2 separate regions of the Homo sapiens genome follow, and region 1 is linked to region 2. Evidence: promoter capture Hi-C in 16 types of primary human blood cells and fetal thymus (Javierre and others, 2016). All regions are on one chromosome and are shown on one strand. The core of a region is centred on a gene start or on the middle of the fragment in contact, and the rest is flanking DNA. Distances in the headings are between cores, read along the strand shown. Region 1 holds the start of CTRB2 (chymotrypsinogen B2). Region 2 overlaps CFDP1 (craniofacial development protein 1).

The links. The method cuts DNA at HindIII sites, captures the fragments that hold promoters and counts their contacts. A CHiCAGO score of 5 or more calls a contact.
Region 1: the fragment with the promoter of CTRB2 here is called in contact with a fragment that was not itself captured in region 2 in 3 of 17 cell types (M1 macrophages, non-activated CD4 T cells and endothelial precursors); the score reaches 5.6 in M1 macrophages.

The regions. Positions count from the first base shown.
Region 1 is chr16:75,202,636-75,208,818 of GRCh38, forward strand. It overlaps CTRB2 (chymotrypsinogen B2), which reads right to left and starts at 4,526. Exons shown (of 7, transcript NM_001025200.4): 1 at 4,455-4,526; 2 at 3,455-3,558; 3 at 3,278-3,357; 4 at 3,107-3,185; 5 at 2,698-2,878; 6 at 2,138-2,271; 7 at 1,468-1,687. The coding sequence starts at 4,506. The coding sequence ends at 1,526. RefSeq lists a silencer at 4,116-4,335 and an enhancer at 6,008-6,183. The HindIII fragment of the contact is 10,617 bases long and covers 1-6,183 here.
Region 2 is chr16:75,421,967-75,428,632 of GRCh38, forward strand. All of the region lies in intron 1 of CFDP1 (craniofacial development protein 1), which reads right to left. Among named protein-coding and RNA genes, the nearest start is that of CFDP1, 8.2 kb to the right of the region's middle. The HindIII fragment of the contact is 9,499 bases long and covers 1-6,666 here.

The DNA.
Region 1 (6,183 bases), core at 3,276-5,775, 220 kb before region 2:
AAAATAATAAAATAAGTTAGCCGGGCATGGTAGCATAGGCCTGTACTCCAAGCTACCTGGGAGGCCGAGACACGAGACTCACTTGAACCTGAGAGATGGATGTTACAGTGAGCTGAGAGCGAACCTCTGCACTCCTGCCTGGGCAAGAAAGCAAGACTCTAAAAAAGACTGTCTAAGAACCCCATGCAGGCTGAGTCAAGGAAACTAAGAAACTAAGCATCTTGGTAAACCAACGAAAATCAAAGGTAAAATCTTAAAAGCATCCAAAGAAAATCCATTAAACCTTTTTAAAAAGCAACAGTAAATCACTGACTTCTCCACGAATCAACAGAAGCCAGGAGACACTGAAACACCTTCCAAGTCCAAATATCCATGTACATACCCACATGCACGTCTCAACAAAAATTATTTTTCAGAGTGACAGGCAACTTTTACAAGATCAAAATGAATAAATATCTTTTCAGACAGTGGAACAACAGGAGAATTTTCTCCAACAAAATTTTCACTGCATTAAAGGAAAGACTAAAAGTTTCCAGAGAGAGAGAGACCGCCAATCCGGACACATCCTGGGAAAGGAACCGGCCCCCTCCATGGCCTGGCCGAAGTGATGGAAGCTGAGCGTGAGGAAGCCTCAAGATCTAACTGCAGAGGCCGAGCGCGGTGGCTCATGCCTATGATCCCAGCACTTTCGGAGGCCGAGGCAGGCAGATCACCTGAGGTCAGGAATTTGAGACCAGTCTGAACAACATAGTGAAACCCCATCTCTACTGAAAATACAACAATTAGCCGGGCGTGGTAGTGAGTGCCTATAATCCCAGTTACTTGAGAGGCTGAGGCAGAAGAATGGCTTGAACCCAGGAGGCAGAGGTTGCCGTGAGCCAAGATGTCACTGCACTCCAGCCTAGGCAGCAGAACAAGACTCTGTCTCAAAAAAAAAAAAAAAAAAAAAAAAAAAAGTCTAACTGCAGGGTCACAGAAAATGCAGAGAGGGAGGCGGGGAAGAGTGTGGGAGCTGAGAGGACAGTGGCGCCAGCTCCCAGCAGTGGATGCAGAAGGTGTGAGGGGCTGGGGTCTGACGGGGGAGGGGGTGATGCTTGCATGCACATTCCTGAGCACTGGACATGGGGGACTAAAGGCAGAGAAAGGCACCTGGAGTGTGTGGGTCAGCAGTGGTCCCAGTGACAACTCCAGGGGGCTATGGATTGCAGAGCCTGGCCAAGGACTGCTGCCTTCCAGAAAGCCCCACGGGTCAAGCTAGCTTCAGCAGGTAGGGCCTAAATTCTAAACCCAGGGTGGAGCCGTGAGCAGGCAAGAGATATGAAGACCTCAGCTTCCTGAGAAGGCTGGGTTGCCAACATTAACTGCAGCCTGGAAAGGGAACGGTAGTGCTGCCCCTTTGTGGGTGACAAGGACAACTTCAAGCCCACCTCCCCTGGGCCACACAGACACAGGCAGTGCAGTCAGGGCTTCTAAACAGATGCATTTAATGGGAAATCTTAAGGCAGGGGTGGCAGGAGCTGCGGGCTCAGTTGGCGGCCAGGATCTTCTGCACCCAGGGTATGAGCTTGGCGACACGGGCGTACACAGCGGGCGTGGTGGTAGAGCAGGTGCGGCTGCCCCAGGACACAATGCCCACCAGGGTCCAGGCTCCGTCCTTCTGGCAGACCAGGGGGCCTCCAGAGTCACCCTGCAGGAAGGAGAGGAAGTATCTCTAGGCCTGAAAGGGGTGCCAGGGCCTAGGGGACCCTGACCTGGTGGAGTCTAGGGAGGGGTGCGGAGAAATGGTAAGCATGGGCATAGGGGCTGTGCCGGGGTCCTGAGATCTGGGTTCACATGGCAGCCCCCACTCTGCCATGCACTCTTGGAGGGAGCTGGGGCAGGTGGCTTCCCTCTCTAAGCCGGGGCACCATCCATCTCTCCAAACCTCCAGCTCACAGGGCTGCAAGGAAGTCCCCAGGGGCAGCCTCAGCTGCATGGCCTGGAGGAACCCTCATGGGCGGCTGTGACCCCAAGGCCTGGCCCTCACTGGGCCCCAGGAGGGTGTGGGGTTAGTAGATGAGAGCAGAGAGGGGTGGAAAGCCCAGACCTCCCCTGCACCCCGCTCGCCTGGCCAGGGCCTGGGCAGGGCCAGCCTCACCATGCAGGAGGAGACGCCACTGGCCCCGGCACAGATCATCACGTCGGTGATCCTCCTGCCCCAGGACTTCTTGCATTCGGCATTGGACAGGAGGGGCAGGGCTGCCTGCTGCAGCTTGTCAGGGGTCTTGTTGGCTGCAGGACAGGAGGAGGGTCAGGGCCCCTGGGCTCACTCAGCCAAGAGTGGAGGGAGAGACCCGGGGCCGACACGCCTGCCCTACCCTGCACCATCACCACGATGTTGGGTACGGCCCCTGGAGCCTCAGAAGCGCCTGTGGGACAAGGGGGCCTCGGCCCTGCCCGGGTGGGAGCCCCACGCTGCGACTCCAGGCAGGTCAGCCAGGGCAGGGCTCACCCGGCCGGGCGCTGCTCAGAAGCTCCCTGTGCAGGCTCCTCATGATCCGACCTGGATTTTATTTGCATTTGGGGGATTTTAAATTCAGAAGATTTTCAATAACGAACGGGCAGTTAGGAGCGTGTTGGAATTTAGAGCCAAACGGTCACGGGGGGACTCCACGGCCAGGCAGCCCAGACCCCAGAGGCAGCCCCGCGGCCCCTCACCGTTGTACTTGGTCTTGCCCCAGCCTGTGGTGGCACACAGTGTCCCCGCGGGGAAGTCGTCGTCGGCGCTGGGCAGGCACACGGCGGACACTGTCTGGGAGAAGCGGGCAGGTGTGGCCAGCTTCAGCAGGGTGATGTCATTGTTCACGGTCAGAATGCTGAACTTGGGGTTCTTGAAGACCTGGGGGTGGGGGCCAGAGTGCCGGGGTGAGGCCCTGGGAGGAGGCAGGACCTGCAGGCTTCGAGGACAGACTCCTTCCCTGGTGCCCGTTAAGGAGCAGTCCATCCCCAGGGCCGGAATGGGAATCACGAGGCCGGCCCGGCCCCACTGGGCGCCTGTCCCTGAAGCAGCCGAGGGGTCTCCCCCCGTGCCCACGGCCCTGCCCTCTGCTGCACGGGGCCTGGGTACCTTGGCGATCTTCAGGACCTGGATGTTCTCCTCGTCAGAGCCCTGGTCAAACTCCCCAGCCACGACCACGTCGGAGGTCCTGGGCAGAGCGTTGTGGGTGAGAGAACATGCCCTGCTCCCCTCCCACCCGACCGGTGCTGGAAGCGGAGCCCAAGGCTGCCCGGTCCTCACCTGACCCCGCAGTGGGCAGCGGTGACCACCCAGTCCTCGCTGATGAGGGAGCCCCCGCAGAAGTGGAAGCCGGTTTTGTCCTGTGAGCAAGATGGGGAGGGTCAGCACCTCCCACCCGGGGGCACCCCCAGCCTGGCCCCTACCCAGGGTGCCCCCCACCTTGCAGAACCCCCTCACCTGCAGGGACACCTGCCAGGGCCAGGAGCCGGGGACGGCGTCCTCCCCATTCACGATCCTGGACAGGCCGCTGAGCACAGGGTGGATGGCGGGGACCCCGCAGCCTGGGGGCGGGAGTGGGCTGAGGGGTGGGTACCACCCACCCAGGTCCTAATGCTCCAGCCTCCTCTCACTCCCAACTCTTTTCCAGTCTCTGGGACCTAGACTGGCTCCCACATCCCCTTCTCTGAGAAGTTGGCCCTGGCTCTCCTCTCCGCAGAGCTGGAATCCCCAGGTACAACTGAGTCCAATGAACTGGGCTGTGGGCTGCTGAGGAATGGGGTGTTGGCCCCACCTCAGTTCGGAGAAGTCACACAGGTGGAGCGTGCGGTGGGCGGCAGCCCCGGCGCTCAGTCTGGGAGGCCAGACTCTGTGGGTTTGAACCTGGCTCCCTCCCTGCCCAGCTAAGCCACTCAGTGTCCCCATCAGCAAAGTGGGGATCACGCTGTTTCTGACCTCACAGGTTTGGTAGAGTGAGCAGGCAGAGCGCCAGCTCTGCGCCTGGCACCCGGGAAGTGCTCCGTGAGCAGGAGTTTAAGAGGGTGAGGCTCGAGGTTCTGAAAGGTTTGGACTGAACGGTGCCAAGCCCCAGCTGCCCACACATTCACCACCCAAACCTGTGCTGGGGCCGCTGACTGTTTGGGGGTTTCCCGAAGGCCTCAGGGCAGCCCCCGGACACCTGCCTCCTCCCCCCGCCTCCTCCCCTGAGAGCCTCAGGTCTGCTGGGGGTGAGGAAGGGGAGCGGGACTCCCCATCTCCTGAGCTCAGAGGCGGCAGCTGAGCCTGGGAGGGAGGCATTGACCTCTCAGCGCCCACGGCAGAGATGGAGCCGGTGACTCGCCCAGGCCCACACTGCGGTGCACAGCTGAACTGGGAGCTGGGACCCTGCTGCCTCTTGCTGGCCTCGGGGCTGGGAGTGAGAGGAGAAAACCCTTCGGCCTCCGCAGGGCCTGGCACTCACCGAAGGTGGTACCCAGGAGGGCCCAGCAGGAGAGGAGCCAGAGGAAAGCCATGGTGCCGCTGGCAGGGGTGTAGGACGCCTGTCTGCCGGTCCCCGTTATAGCCCTGTGTGCCTGCTGTTATCTGGAGACCTTGGGGCGATAATCCCTTCCCTGGGAGTGGGCAAGATGTGTCGGTGCAGGGCTGGCCAGGAAGCCTGGGATGGCAGCAGCTGTGGCCTTAGCTGAGCCGGGCTAACCCAGGTGGCCTTCGACCATTGCCTTTCTCCTCCAGGCCCAGGCTTGGGCAGGGGCCTCCAGGGGCTGAGTCCAGCATCCCCGGGTTTGAGCCCCAGCTGAGTCTCTTGTGCTCTGCAAAGAATTCACTTGATCTTTTCATGGTTTGAAAACCCCTGGGCAGGCCGGGCATGGTGGCTCACGCCTGTAATCCCAGCACTTTGGGAGGCTGAGGCGGATGGATCACGAGGTCAAGAGATCAAGACCATCCTGGCCAACATGGTGAAACTCCGTCTCTACTAAAAATACAAAAAATTAGCCAGGCGTGGTGGCGCACACCTGTATTCCCAGCTACTTGGGAGGCTGAGGCAGGAGAATGGTGTGAACCCGGGAGGCGGAGGTTGCAGTGAGACGAGATTGCGCCACTACACTCCAGCCTTGTGACAGTGAGACTGTCTCAAAAAAGGAAAAAAAACAAAAAAAAAGAAAAAAACCCAATGGGCAATGTGACCAAGTAGAGGAGAGGCTGGGGGAGCAGGCCTGTGCCCCATGGTGTAGCCAGAGGCTGGGGTGCGGGTGCTCGCCGGGTCCCAGGGGATGGCTAAGAAGGCTCAGTGAAGGCCCAGTCGACATCTGTGTTGGTCACTTGGGCTGTGTACAGGGGAGGGGTAGCTACCTGCTGTCCTCACACTGGGCCACCCCTGCACACAGGCGCCAGCACACCTGGGCCCTGGAGCTGAGCAGGTGGCATCAGAGGGCAAGACTGGGCCTAGGGCCCGGCCTGGGGGCCTGGCATCGCCCTGATGAGAACTGATGGAGGCTGAGCCTCAGGGCAGAGCATGGGCGGGGACACCTGGTTCCTCGTGCGGGTGGCAGCATGGGTGGTGGAGCCCTTTCTCAGCAACTGGGAAACGGGGGAGGGAGAAATTTTGGATTGAGGCTGCCAGATGGAGGGCAAGTTCCCCAAAATGCACAGGAAAAGGTGCCTCGTGGCTGTTTTCAATTCCACCACACTGATGCCTGCAGCATGTGTGTTTACAGCACGGGTTGTGGGGTCAGGCAGCTGTGGAGCCGTGGGCAAATGACTTGCCCTCTCTGATCCTGTATGTAATTGAGGATGCTTAGAGTATGGGTCCCATGACAAAAGGAAGAGCCTTCTTGAGCACCAGGACCAGGCCAAGCATGCAATCCACGCTGGCGGGGCCCCTACATTCCTCTTTCTTGAGTGAATCACCTGTTCAGGCCCTTCGCTCATTCTAGAAGATTGTCTGAGGACAGAGGGGTTGGCGGGCACCAGCAGGACGGAGCATGGCCTGGTCGGGATGAGACGCACCCACCTCTGCATGCACATGGGCTCTTCCTGCCAGCCAGTGCCCACCAGGCCCACGGGAACAGCTGAACAAAACCAACAAATTCCTGCGTGTGGCAGCTGACAGCCGGGAGGAGGCTGGAGAGTTTAGGGAAGAGAGTCAATTTTTAAAATAAGTAAAATACACACACCAGCAGCTAAAGAGT
Region 2 (6,666 bases), core at 2,823-5,322:
CAACACCCAATATAAGTGCTATATGAATAGTTGTTATACTGTATTGTTTAGGAAATAATGACAAGGAAAAAAGTTTGTACACATTCAGTACAGACATAACCACCCATTTGTTTTCCCAAATACTTTCTCTCTCTCTCTCTTTTTTTTGAGACGGAGTTTCGCTCTTTTTGCCCAGGCTGGAGTGCAATGGTGCGATCTCGGCTCACCGCAACCTCTGCCTCCCGTGTTCAAGCTATTCTCCTGCCTCAGCCTCCCAAGTAGCTGGGATTACAGGCGCTTGCCACCACACCCGGCTAATTTTTTGTATTTTTAGTAGAGACAGGGTTTCACCGTGTTGCCAGGATGGTCTCGATCTCTTGACCTCGTGATCCACCTGCCTCGACCTCCCAAAGTGCTGGGATTACAGGCGTGAGCCACTGCGTATGGCCTCTTTTTTTTTTTTTTTTTTTTTGAGACAGAGTCTCGCTCTGTTGCCCAAGCTAGAGTGCAGTGGCATGATCTTGGCTCACTACGATCCTCCCGGGTTCAAGTGATTCTCCTGCCTCAGCCTCACGAATACCTGAGACTACAGGTATGCACCACCACTCCCAGCTGATTTTTGCATTTTTGGTAGAGACGGGGTTTCACCATGTTCGTCAGACTAGTCTTGAACTCCTGGCCTCAAGTGATCCACCCACTTCAGCCTCCCAAAGTGCTGGGATTACAGGTCAGAGCCACCACATCCAGCCTCTTAGAGAGTCTTAAAACTGTGATCAAAAAAAAAACACGTTTTTAGAGGTTAAGGCAGAAGGATCGCTTGAGGCCAGGAGTTCAACGTGTCACTGAGCTGTGATCTTGCCACTGCACTCCAGCCTGGGTGACGGAGCAAAACCCTGTTTCTTTTAAAAACAAACAAACAAATCCAGGTTTTCTCACACCTGTAATGCCAGCACTTTGGGAGGCTAAGGCAGGAAGATTGCTCAAAGCCAGGTGTTTGAGACCAGCTTGGGCAACATGGTGAGAGACCTCATCTCTACAAAAAATAAAAAATTAGGCCGGGCGCAGTGGCTCACGCCTGTAATCCCAGCACTTTGGGAGGCCGAGGTGGGCGGATCACAAGGTCAGGAGATCGAGACCATCCTGGCTAACACGGTGAAACCCCATCTCTACTAAAAATACAAAAAAATTAGCCGGGCCTTGTGGTGGGTGCCTGTAGTCCCAGCTACTCGGGAGGCTGAGGCAGGAGAATGGCGTGAACCCGGGAGGCAGGGCTGGCAGTGAACCGAGATGGTGCCACTGCACGCCAGCCTGGGTGACAGAGCAAGACTCCGTCTCAAAAAAAAAAAAAAAAAAATTAGATGGGCATGATGGTGTGCATCTGTAGTCCCAGGTACCTGGGAGGCTGAGGTGGGAGGATCACTTGAGCCCAGGAGTTTTAGGCTGCAGTGAGCTGATTGCGCCACTGCACTCCAGTCTGGGTAATCAAGCGATTCTCGTGCCTCAGCCCAGTAGCTGGGACTAATTTTTGTATTTTTAGTAGAGACTGGGTTTCACCACGTTGGCGAGGTTGGTTTTTTTTTGTTTTTTGAGACGGAGTCTCACTCTGTCGCCCAGGCTGGAGAGCAGTGGTGCGATCTCCGCTCACTGCAACCTCCGCCTCTTGGGTTCACGCCATTCTCCTGCTTCAGCCTCCCGAGCAGCTGGGACTACAGGCACCCGCCACCTCGCCCGGCTAATTTTTTGTATTTTTAGTTGAGACGGGGTTTCACCACGTTAGCCAGGATGGTCTCGATCTCCTGACCTTGAGATCCGCCCACCTCGGCCTCCCAGGTTGGTCTTTAACTCCTGGCTTCAAGTGATCTGCACTCCTTGGCCTCCCAAAGTGCTGGGATTACAGGCGTGAGCAACTGCACCCAGCCTTTTTCCAAATATTTTCTATCTGCAGTTGGTTGAATCCATGGCTGTGGAAACCACAGATACAGAAGGCTGACTATATTAGCAAACCAAATTCAGCAATGTATAAATATATCCTGACCAAGTGAGCTGTCTCCCAGAAATAAGTCTGTCAGAAATTTGAAAATCAAACACTGTAATCCACCATATTAACAGACAAAAAAAAAGAAAAACCACATGTAATTAAATCAATAGATGGAGAAAAAGCATTTGACAAAATTCACCTCTCTGAAAATTAGGAACAGAGGGGAACTTATCTAACATGATAAAAGGAATCTCTGAGGGACAATATATGCAGACTGCCAAGGTTAACATTCCAGCTAAGTTACTATCTAACTGGATGAATTTCAGCCATTTGCTTAGACTTTGTGCCTCAGTTTTTTCATCAGTAAAATGCAGAACACAATTAGCACGTACAGTGTTAGGTGACTGAGTTGGTAATAAGTTACTCAATGCTAAAGGGTTTAAACGGCAGGCAGACAGACACACACGGCATCTGTGAAAAACCTATAGCTAACACCACATCAAGTGGTAAAACACTAGTTTCTTTTCCCCCTTAAGATTGGGAAAAAGGCTGCCAGACGCGGTGGCTCACGCCTATAATCCCAGCACTTTGGGAGGCTGAGGCGGGCGGATCACGAGGTCAGGAGATCAAGACCATTCTGGCTAACACGGTGAAACCCAGTCTCTACTAAAAATACAAAAACTTAGCGGGCGTGGTGGCGGGCGCCTGTAGTCCCAACTACTCGGGAGGCTGAGGCAGAAGAATGGCGTGAACCCAGGAGGCAGAGGTCACAGTGACCCAAGATCGTGCCACTGCACACTCCAGCCTGGGCAACAGAGGGAGACTCCGTCTCAAAAAAAAAAAAAAAAAGATTGGGAAAAAGGCAAAGATGTCCCCTCTCACCACTAGCATTCAACATCATACTGGAAGTATAAAGTACAACAAGGCAAGCAAAATAAATATAAAAGGTAAACATATTGGAAAGGAAGAAATAAAACTGTTTCTATTCACATTTGACATCACTGTCTGTGTGGAAAATCCCACAGAATCTACAAAAACCTCCAGAACTGGTAAATGAGTTTAGCAAGGTTGTAGAATACAAGGTTAGTATGCAGAACCTGTATTGTATTTCCATATACTAGTTACAAACAATTAGAAATAAAAACTTTTTACACCTAAAAAAAAAAGATACAGACTGTATTCATAGACTAAAATATAAGATCGTTAAATTGTCAATTCTTCCCAAAACGGTCTACAGATTCAATGCAATTCCAAACAAAATCAAAGTAGGATACTTTTTCGAGAGATGAACAAAGTGATTTTACAATGCATATGGTGGCCAGGCCTGGTGGCACACGTCTGTAGTACCAGCTACACAGGAGGCTGAGGAAGGAGAATCACTTGAACCTGGGAGGTAGAGGTTGCAGTGAGCAGAGATCGCGCCACTGCACTCCAGCCTGGGCAACAGAGTGACACTCCATCCCCCTCAAAAAAAAAAAAAAAAAAAAAACTATATGGAAAGGCAAAGGAACAAGAGCAGCCAAAACTATTTTGAAAAAGAATAAAGTTGGAGTACTCTCTCTACCTGATTTCAACACTTAAATCAAAAACAGTAAATGAAACTGTGGAAACAGAGGCCCAGAAATAAACCTATACAAGTATGGCCAGTTCACTTTACAGAAATACAAAGGGAATTCGATGGAGAAAGAATAATCTTTTCAACAAATAATGAAAATACTGGACATCCAGATGCAAAAGAAAAAAAAAAAAAGAATCCATAACTCATATCTTATGCAAAAATTAACTGAAAATAAATAATGATAACTGATTTTTTAAAAAAGTAAATGCTGGCCGGGCACGGTGGCTCACTCCTGTAATCCCAGCACTTTGGGAGGCCGGGGTGGGCGGATTACCTGAGAGGTCAGGAGTTCAAGACCAGCCTGGCCAACATGGTGAAACCCCATCTCCACTAAAAATACAAAAATTAGCCAGGCGTGGTGGCAGGCGCCTATAATCCCAACTACTCGGGAAGCTGAGGCAGGAGAATCGCTTGAACCTGGGAGGCGGAGGTTGCAGCGAGCTGAGATCATGCCACTGCACTCAAGCCTGGGCAACAGAGCAACACTCTGTCTCAAAAAAAAAAAAAAAAAAAAAAAAAAAAGTAAAGGCCAGGCACTGTGGCTTATGCCTATAATCCCAACACTTTGGGAGGCCGAGGTGGGCGGATCACCTGAGGTTGGGAGTTCAAGACCAGCCTGACCAACATGGAGAAACCCTGTCTCTACTAAAAATACAAAATTAGCCAGGCGTGGTGGCACATGCCTGCAATCCCAGCTACTCAGGAGGCTGAGGCAGGAGAATCCCTTGAACTCAGGAGGCGGAGGTTGCAGTGAGCCAAGATCATGACATTGCACTCCAGCCTGGGCAACAAGAGCGAAACTCTATCTCAAAAAAACAAAAACAACAACAAAGTAAAACTATGTAACTTTTACATAGGAAAATACACTATCTTTGTAATCCCGAGTTAGGCAAAAAAGAGTTCTTAGATATGATTCCAAAAGCACAACCCATAATAGAAAAATTTGACAAACTGGATTTTATCCAAGTTTAAAAATTTTACTCTGCAGGCCAGGCATGGTGTCTCATGCCTGTAGTCCCAGTTACTACAGAGGCTGAGGCAGGAAAATTGTTTGAGCCCAGGAAGTAAAGGTTGCAGTGAGGTGAAATCGTGCCACTGCATTCCAGCCTGGGCAACAGAGCAAGACTCTGTTTCAAAAAAACACCAAAAAAAATTGCTGTGCAAACACTATTAAGAGAATGAAAAGACAAGCACAGAGACAAAACACTGCAAAACAAGTATGTGACAAAGGAGCCGGGGGTGGTGACTCAGGCCTGTACTCCCAGCACTTTGGGAGGCCAAGGTGGGTGGATCACTTGAGGTTGGGAGTTGGAGACCAGCCTGGCAAACATGGTGAAACCCCATCTCTACTGAAAATACAAAAATTAGCTGGGTGTGGTGGCGAGTGCTTGTAATCCCACCTACTTGGGAGGCTGAGGCAGGAGAATCGCTTGAACCCGGGAGGTGGAGGTTGTGGTGAGCCAAGATTATGCCACTGTACTCCAGCCTGGGGGACAGCGAGACTGTCTCAAAAAAAAAAAAACAAAACAAATATCTGACAAAGGACTATATCCAGAATATATAATTCCAAAACTGAAAACAACCCAATGTTTTAAATGGACAAAGAATTCAAAAGACACACCAAAGAAGATAAAATGATGGCAAACAGGAACATGAAAAGAGCATCAACATCCTTAGGGAAATGCAAACTAAAGGAGAAATTAGCTAATTTTTTTTCTTTTTTTTTCGAGACAGTGTCTCGCTCTCTTGCCCAGGCTGGAGTGCAGTGGCACAATTCCGGCTCACTGCAACCTCCACCTCCTGGGTTCAAGCGATTCTCCTTCCTCATCCTCCCAAGTAGCTGGGACTACAGGCATGCACCACCATGCCCGGCTAATTCTTTGTATTTTTTAGTAGAGACAGGGTTTCAACATATTGGCCAGGCTGGTCTTGGACTCCTGACCTTGTGATCTGCCTGCCTTGGCCTCCCAAAGTGGTGGGAATACAGGCATGAGCCACCGCGCTCGGCCCCAAATTAGCTAATATTTAAAACAAAAACAAAAACAAAAAAATCTGACCACCCCAAGTGTTGTTGAGGATGAAGAGCAACTTGAACTCTCAAACTTGTTACCAACAGCAATCAAGCCACAAAAAAATTTAGCAGCTTCTTGTAAAGTTAAACATACACATACTACAAAACCCAGTAATCCCACTCCTAGATATTGACTCAAGTGAAATGAAAACCCATGTTCACAGAAAAAGCTGTGTGTAAATATTTATAAACAGCTTTATTTGTAATCATAAAAAATTGGAAACAACCCAGTGTCTTTCAAATGCAGAATAAACTGTGGTATATCCATATAATGGACTACCACCCAACAACAGAAGGAGCTAATTACTGACATGTGCAACAACACAGGTGAATCTCAAATGCATTATGCTAAGCGGAAGAAGCCAGATACAAAAAGCTGCCTACTGTTATGGTTCCATTTAGATTATATTCTGAAAAAGGCAAAACTATAAAGATGGAAAACAGACCAGAGGTTGCTAATGGCTGGGGCCGGGGGTGAGGGAGAGTTGTTTGACTACAAAGAGTAGCAGGGGAAATTTGTTTTTTTTTTTTTTTAAGAGGGTTGACGGCTTGAAACTGTTCATTTTGGTGGAGGTTACACAACGCTAGGCATTTAACAAAAATCAGAGAACAGTACATTGAAAACAGTAAATTTTATTGTATGTAAGTTAAAAATTGTATGTTAAATGCTGATACTGCATTTACAAAAGAAGAACATAATGCTATAAAAATATTCAAAGTTGGCTGGGCTCAGTGGCTCACACCTGTAATCCCAGCACTTTGGGAGGCCGAAGCAAGTGGATCACAAGGTCAGGAGATCGAGACCATCTTGACCAACAAGGTGAAGCCCCGTCTCTATTAAAATACAAAAACAAAATTAGCCAGGTGTGGTGGCACGCGCCTGTATCCCAGCTACTCGAGAGGCTGAGGCAGGGGAATCGCTTGAACCCGGAAGGCGGAAGTTGCAGTGAGCCGAGATTGCGCCACTGCACTCCAGCCTGGGTGACAGAGCTATACTCCATCTCAAAAATAAATAAATAG